2 separate regions of the Homo sapiens genome follow, and region 1 is linked to region 2. Evidence: promoter capture Hi-C in 16 types of primary human blood cells and fetal thymus (Javierre and others, 2016). All regions are on one chromosome and are shown on one strand. The core of a region is centred on a gene start or on the middle of the fragment in contact, and the rest is flanking DNA. Distances in the headings are between cores, read along the strand shown. Region 1 overlaps CEP120 (centrosomal protein 120). Region 2 holds the start of CSNK1G3 (casein kinase 1 gamma 3).

What was found. The method cuts DNA at HindIII sites, captures the fragments that hold promoters and counts their contacts. A CHiCAGO score of 5 or more calls a contact.
Region 1: a fragment that was not itself captured here is called in contact with the fragment with the promoter of CSNK1G3 in region 2 in 1 of 17 cell types (non-activated CD4 T cells); the score reaches 6.2 in non-activated CD4 T cells.

The regions. Positions count from the first base shown.
Region 1 is chr5:123,378,102-123,381,433 of GRCh38, forward strand. CEP120 (centrosomal protein 120) reads right to left here. Exons shown (of 20, transcript NM_001375405.1): 15 at 235-327. Among named protein-coding and RNA genes, the nearest start is that of CEP120, 44 kb to the right of the region's middle. The HindIII fragment of the contact is 4,009 bases long and covers 1-3,332 here.
Region 2 is chr5:123,510,355-123,513,552 of GRCh38, forward strand. It overlaps CSNK1G3 (casein kinase 1 gamma 3), which reads left to right and starts at 1,823. Exons shown (of 14, transcript NM_001364140.2): 1 at 1,823-2,216. RefSeq lists enhancers at 1,535-1,594, 1,755-1,964, 2,995-3,144 and silencers at 2,145-2,234, 2,405-2,474. The HindIII fragment of the contact is 13,359 bases long and covers 1-3,198 here.

The DNA.
Region 1 (3,332 bases), core at 187-2,686, 130 kb before region 2:
ATAGATGACATACTTACTAATAACACCACTTTCCACCTCTTTGTAAATAATTATGTAAGACTCTCATAAATGGAGTGCCTCTATTCCAGTCTTTGCTTGTCTCATTCTTATAAGCAGCCCATCCTGAGTCCCTTCTCTCTCGGGACTCTTTTGCATCTAACTTTTAAAATAGTATTTCTACTTTGCAATAAACCCCTCTATGCTGAAAAAAAATACAATGGACGAATGACATACCTCTGATTCCACACTAGCAAGCTGCTGCTCTCGCTTCTCCAAGTCAATTAGAGTTTTTTGAAGTTTTCCTTCTAGAATAGTATATTCAGCCACCTAAAATATAGTAAAAAAAAAAAAAAAAAAGTTACCTACCTTCTCCCAAACTTAAAACACACACAAATTCAAAAATACACATCATTTCACTGAAACAGAGGACCTAAGAATAGGAAAGTCACAAATTACATCCGCCAATTCAAAGAAAAAAATGTGCTTTTATGAATTTGAGACTGGTGATGGTCATATTTCCTCCTCTTGGTCTTTTTTCTTCTCCAAGATAAACACAAATTTTAACTGTTATTCACATATTATGATTTCCACATCCTCTAGTATGTTAGACTTAATCTAAATTTACAGAGGATGGAAACAAAAGACTGCTAAATTTGAAACGCATATGTAGTGTAAGCAACTAAATAGCCAAGTGTGGAGTCCAGGGAAGAAGTCAGGGATGGGGGTGCGTGTGGTGGGTGTCTTGGTGTATATAATGCCAAGAGAGTGAATGACATCATCCAAGGAGTGAGTATACAGAGAGAAGAAAGGATGGTATTTGAGGACTGGGCTGTGGGACAAGCCAATAAAGCCAACATGAGGAGAATCTAGCATGAAAATTAGGAAAGAGAGACCAGTGAAGACAGCGGAACACAACAGTAGAAAAGTGTAGTCCAAAAAAAAAATATAGTCAAAGAAGCCAAATAGAGGAAGTGTTTCAAAGACAGAGATAAACCGGGTAAGGATGAGGAAGGATTGTTTGTTAAGACAAAAACTAACTGTTCTGGCGAGTGAGAAAATGAATTGACTAGGGAAAGCAGTAGGATTGTGAGCAGCCGTGAGGACGTCTTAGCGCTTGAGGTCCTAAACCTCCTTAAAATCATCTCTTTACCACCCATCTTTTCTCCATAACCTTTCACTACTATTAGTTTTTGGCTTTCGTTTTTTATACATATTGCTTTCCTGGTCTCCTGGACTTTAGTTTCACATTCCTCTATTCTAGCCACTGTACCTCCATCAGAATTATTGTTATAGAATGAAAACCTAATTATTTTATATAAAAATCTTCATTTAAAAAATTTCTGATATTTCTACCGTTCTCAACCAGGGTTTATCATCTGAACCACAAAACACAGAAAATGATTTAATTATTTTCTCCATCCTCTCCTAAAATGGTACATAACTACCATTTTAGATGCATAGGATAAAGTTAATTTATTACCAATAATGGATCACTTAGGGTATTAAGGGCTTCATTCTCTCAGGAAGGCCTGGCTAAGAAAAGCCTACAGTATCTAGTCTAAACTCTACATAATGGATTTACGAGATCATTTATTCTCCAGGGTATCAACCTCTCTTACCTTATTTCTTGAGGCACACTCTTTCCTCCCCTCTTCCAACATCAAACTACATATAATTTTCTTAATGCAGAGTGTATTTCAAACTTCTTTGCCTTTTCCTCAAGGGGCTGTGTCCGGAATACCCTTTGAGTCTACCTGGCAATATCCACTAATCTTCACCAAAGTGAAAGCATGATCTTATCTACAGAACACTTCCTTATGTAGAACTGATGTCTTCCTTCTCTGTGGGTAATGACTATCTTCAGCTATCTGACAGGCAGTCATATGTAAGACAGAGTATATCTCAGTTGCTCCAGAGGGCAGAACAAGAACCACGTATATATCTACTCCTTCAGGTAAATTTTCAAAGTGTGAAAGAAGTTATACATCGTTTTTTAAGACAAATCAGGTAAATAAACGAAAAGGCTCACATATAATTGACATTTAAAAAATACTATAGTGAGAGTCTCAGGGTATTTAGCTTTAAAATATTTCATCATACTGAAAAACAACTTTTTTTTCTCACTACTGACTTGATTTTGTAGTGGTTGATAAAATTTAAAAGAAAAACTGATCCCATGCAAGACAGGATACTTTAAGACAAATGAATTAAAGTATTTGGTCTCAAAAATGCACTTAGGTTGAAAGAAAATGGCAAATCTCAATCTCAGATCTACCTTTATCATATGACTAATTTGAATAAACAGCACAAACACTTATTATGTAGGCATCATATTGTTTTCTGACTGGAGTTATTAACTAGCCAGGAACTCATCATTTCAGGCTGAAAGGGTAGAAGTGTATAAATGGAAACCAATTACAAATTTTAGCTGAAAAGATCATTATTACCAAAATGACAACAAACCAAAAATTACTTGGTGAGTTTTCACAGAAAGTTTAATTATGGCACAAAGTGAATTTGTCACGGTTCTAGTAATTTTATTAACTTTTCAAGTATTTCCCGATTTGAATTTTGCAGACCTCAATACTAAAATACTCTTCAACACAATGAAGAGAAATGATTCAAGGATAAACTCATCTTGTCTTAAAGGCTAGGTTAAAAATTTTAAAAATTAAAATGGTATTTTCCAGCTCCCCCAGATTCAATGAATATCTAATAGGTGAGGTCTGTAAATATTACTTAATATGAAACTCACTTAATAACAGGATAACTCGCATAATGTTAAAATGTATGTCAGGGCTTCTAATTATTGTAATTTTGGTTATCTGAACGTTTCTAAAGAATAGAGACTTTGAAATACTCTTATTTTTGTCTTTCAGCTTTTTTAAAAGTTCACTGGTTATTCAAGTTTTTAATGGTGAGAATTAAGTTAGAAAAAGCTGATTTGGTTATTTTAAAATCAAAGGCCTGTGTACTTCTGTTTCCACCCATAAAAGACAAATGGCCCTCCTTTATAAACACAACTTAAACAACATTTATGAAACAACTGTTTTTAGACATTGGGCAACAGGCAGCACAGGACAATGATCCCTAAAAGGTGAGAAATAAATGAGGCAACCACTACAATATATCTAGCTTACTGCCTGAAGACTGTAGTAGCTCAAGGAAGGGGAACCCAAACAGACACTAGCAATCTTGCTGAGCTGAGAAAACGGAATGGAGACCAGAGAGGCTGAGGCAACTAGAGTTGATGAGAGGAGGGGGTTATAGAGAGAAGGAGCACTGGAGCCCTGTAGAGCCATCCCCTCAAATCTGAAGCTGAATACTGATTA
Region 2 (3,198 bases), core at 573-3,072:
AGGCCAAATTTTAACCAAAAGTCTTCCCTGCAGTGTTAAAAATGTAAACATTTATTCCCATACGTTTCTAATATAATTTAATAAATACTAGTCAAGTGAAACAGTGGGAGTGGAGAAGGAACAAAGAAATCTGTAACTGGTTGTGAGCAATTCGTTGTAAGTACCACCGTACTTAGACCAGCCCATTTTTAATTTAAAAATGTGTTTTGATCATATATTTATACACTTGACTTTCTCAACCATTTATGAAAACTTAGAAGAGTGGGTGTTCTTTATCAAAACTGAGTTTTTTGAGGTAGAGAGAATAAAATGGTTTGTTGGGAGTTGAGGACAATATTTAGAGTTTCCTGTGTTGCAGACACTTCTCTTCTATTGAGTGAGATGTTGTTAACTTTGTTTCTTGTCTATTAGTGGGTCCTGGGAGAGATCAGAAATTCTGGGATATGTCATCTGCCCTAGGCAAGTCATTCACAATTCTGAGCATGCATACATCTTAGCTGCTTTTGAGTCTCCTACAGAATGATGGTGTGGTAAGCATGGAGCAAAGCTCTTATCACTACCCTTCTAAGGCTGGTGATGCTAGTCACTTCTTAACTTCCAGTTTGGGGAAGAAGTGAGAAGAGAGGTTTAAAAAAAAGGCACTGTTGTATTACAAACCAAAATCAAAAACAGATTTCTATACTAACTACCCTTCCAAAGGTAACACATTAGCTATACCGTTAATCTAGCAAAGCAGGGAGGAAAATGAAGGAGTGCATTTGTTTCATTAGTCTTTTCGTTTTGAGAGGTAGACAGGAGAGATAGAGATACACAAGACTCAAGTTTCTTGATACAGTAAGTATATTAAGAATATAAACGGGTTTGATAAAATGAACATTTAAAAAACATGGCACCAGGCTGATTCTTCTTCCTGCACACCTTAATGCCTAACTTTTGAAAGGACTTGAGACATAAGAATCACAATTTTAAAAAATTATAGTTTCCATGCCTTCATGGTGGATCAATTTCCATAGAAGTCTACCAAAATGACTTATCTCCATCCCAGGGAAGCAACTGCAAGAGGGAAAATGAAAGGAATGCAGTCTTTCTATGTAGGCAGAGTGGACTTAAGTGTGAGTCAGAAACACCGATTTCAGTTTGTGCGCTGCAACTTGATAACTTGGGTGATGTTTGGCTTCTCAGAACTTTGGGAGGTGAATTTGAAAAACAGGTAATGCCACACTATATAGTTCAGAGGATTACCTCAGCTTACAAACAGCAAATGAGACGCAAATGTGAGCCATAATTCACATTTCTAAGCAGTTGGAGCCCTGATATGGCACTGGGGTTACAAACAAGCGGGGAAAAATGTCAACCCAGTGATGTCATACTCCTAGGCCGGGCCCTAAGATTTTTTTGGAACCTGGCGGGCTGAGCACAACAGGGAAAGCCTCAGCACCCTGACTTGGCACAATGGTACCCTTAAGGCTCTTTGCTCACTCAGTTCTTAGTAGCTCTCCTAAAGCATGGTGGTGTTCTCTTCCAGTTCTCTGCGTAGACTTTGCTATGCTTCTCCGCCCACTGCTTCATCCAGAGAAACACTCGTATCCACAGCCTCTCCCCACTTTCCCTCACGCACGGCTCTAGAAAGACGGGGATAGGGCGCGGCTTAGGCTTTATACACCTTGCCAGCCAATGACCGCGCCGTCTCCTTTCCGGTCGGCGATCCGACCAATCCAAGAAGGTTGGTGCAATCTTCGGCTCTACTCGGCTGTTTTCGCTGATGCGGGCAGCTTGGGGGCCGCCGCCGCTAAACAGACGCTTTCCTTTTTAATTTTTTTTCCATGTGTTCACTTCCGGGTCCGGCGTCGATCCGGATGCCCGAGGCAGAAGGATGTTTGACCTCCGGATAAGCGAGGCGCTGCTGTGCATTCATTCCGGGCTGCATCGGTGGCGACAGCAGAGGCTCGGGCGGCGACTCTCCGGCCAGCGGCGGCGGTAGGAGGCACCAGCGGCAGTGCAGGGACCGAATCCGAGCAGCGCTGCGTTACCTCTCTCTCTCGCTCCTTCCCCCCTACCTCGCTCGCTCGCTCGCTCGCTCCCTGCGTGGCTCGCTTTCCTCCTCCGGCCGCCGGCGGGTGTGATGTGCCGCCGCCGCTGCCCCCGCCGGCGCTGACGGACTGGGGGCGCCGCCCGCGCCCGGGACCGACCCCTCTGCTCGCGGCCGCGCCTTTGAGGTAAAGCCCCCTGCGCGTAGGTGCTCCGCTGCCAGCCCCGGCCCGGCGGCTGCCTCGGCGCGGCCGCGGCGCCCTCCCTCCCGGGTGGGGCTGGGGTCCCGGGCGGGTGGGGTGGGGTGCGGCGGGGGCGGCGCCGCAGGCGCGGGTGTCGGGGGAGGGGTGGGCGAGGACCATGGCGGGTGGCCCGGAGGCGTGGGCAGGAGGGGGCCGCGGTCGGAGGCTGAGGGCGCGGAGGGCTAGGGGGCAGCGGGGGCCGCGGGTGGCGGGTCGGGCTGGGTGCAAAAGTTGCCGGAGTGGTGCGGCGCGACTGGGGCGGCGAGGGAGGTGGGCCAACTGGGCCGGCGGGGGCTTCCTTAGGAGAGATTGGGAGGTGGGGAGTGTCGCCCACGGTGCTCCTTGACTGTGTCCAGACAATTACCTTTGGAGTAGGGGCTTCAGGCAGGAAGGAGGCATGGATAGGCTGGGAGGAGGCGACGGGGGCCAGCGTTCAGCTCAGGGATAAACTTCCCGTTGGAGTGTTTAAGGGGTTGGGTGGGGGGACACAGGGATTTACCTGTTTCTTAGAGCTTTGACTCAGCTCAAAACTTAACCAAGACATTAGTCAAAGGTTAGCAAAATCACTCTGATGGTTACTCTCATGGTGCCGGTTTGTTTGTTTATCCCACATGCAGGGGAAGTGACACTGAGAAGCATCGGGTCTCTTGGTCCACAGCCTCCACATTTCTTTTCAGCAGGATGAGGAGGGAGATGTGTGTCTACTCGTGGGGTGGGGGTAGTGAGGCCTGTGTCATGGTCATTCCCCTTCTCCCACCTCATGTTTTAGGGAGGAAAAGTTCAGATGGGGGAGAGAGTGAGTGTGCCTGTGTGTGTGGGAGACAGCTACTGTTGATACACTGTGTGAATTACTTTCAACTCTTTTGTAGTAAGCACCCAGGCTGGTCAGTGGCTCCTTTTAAATCTTCTATTAAAATATTTACTTTAA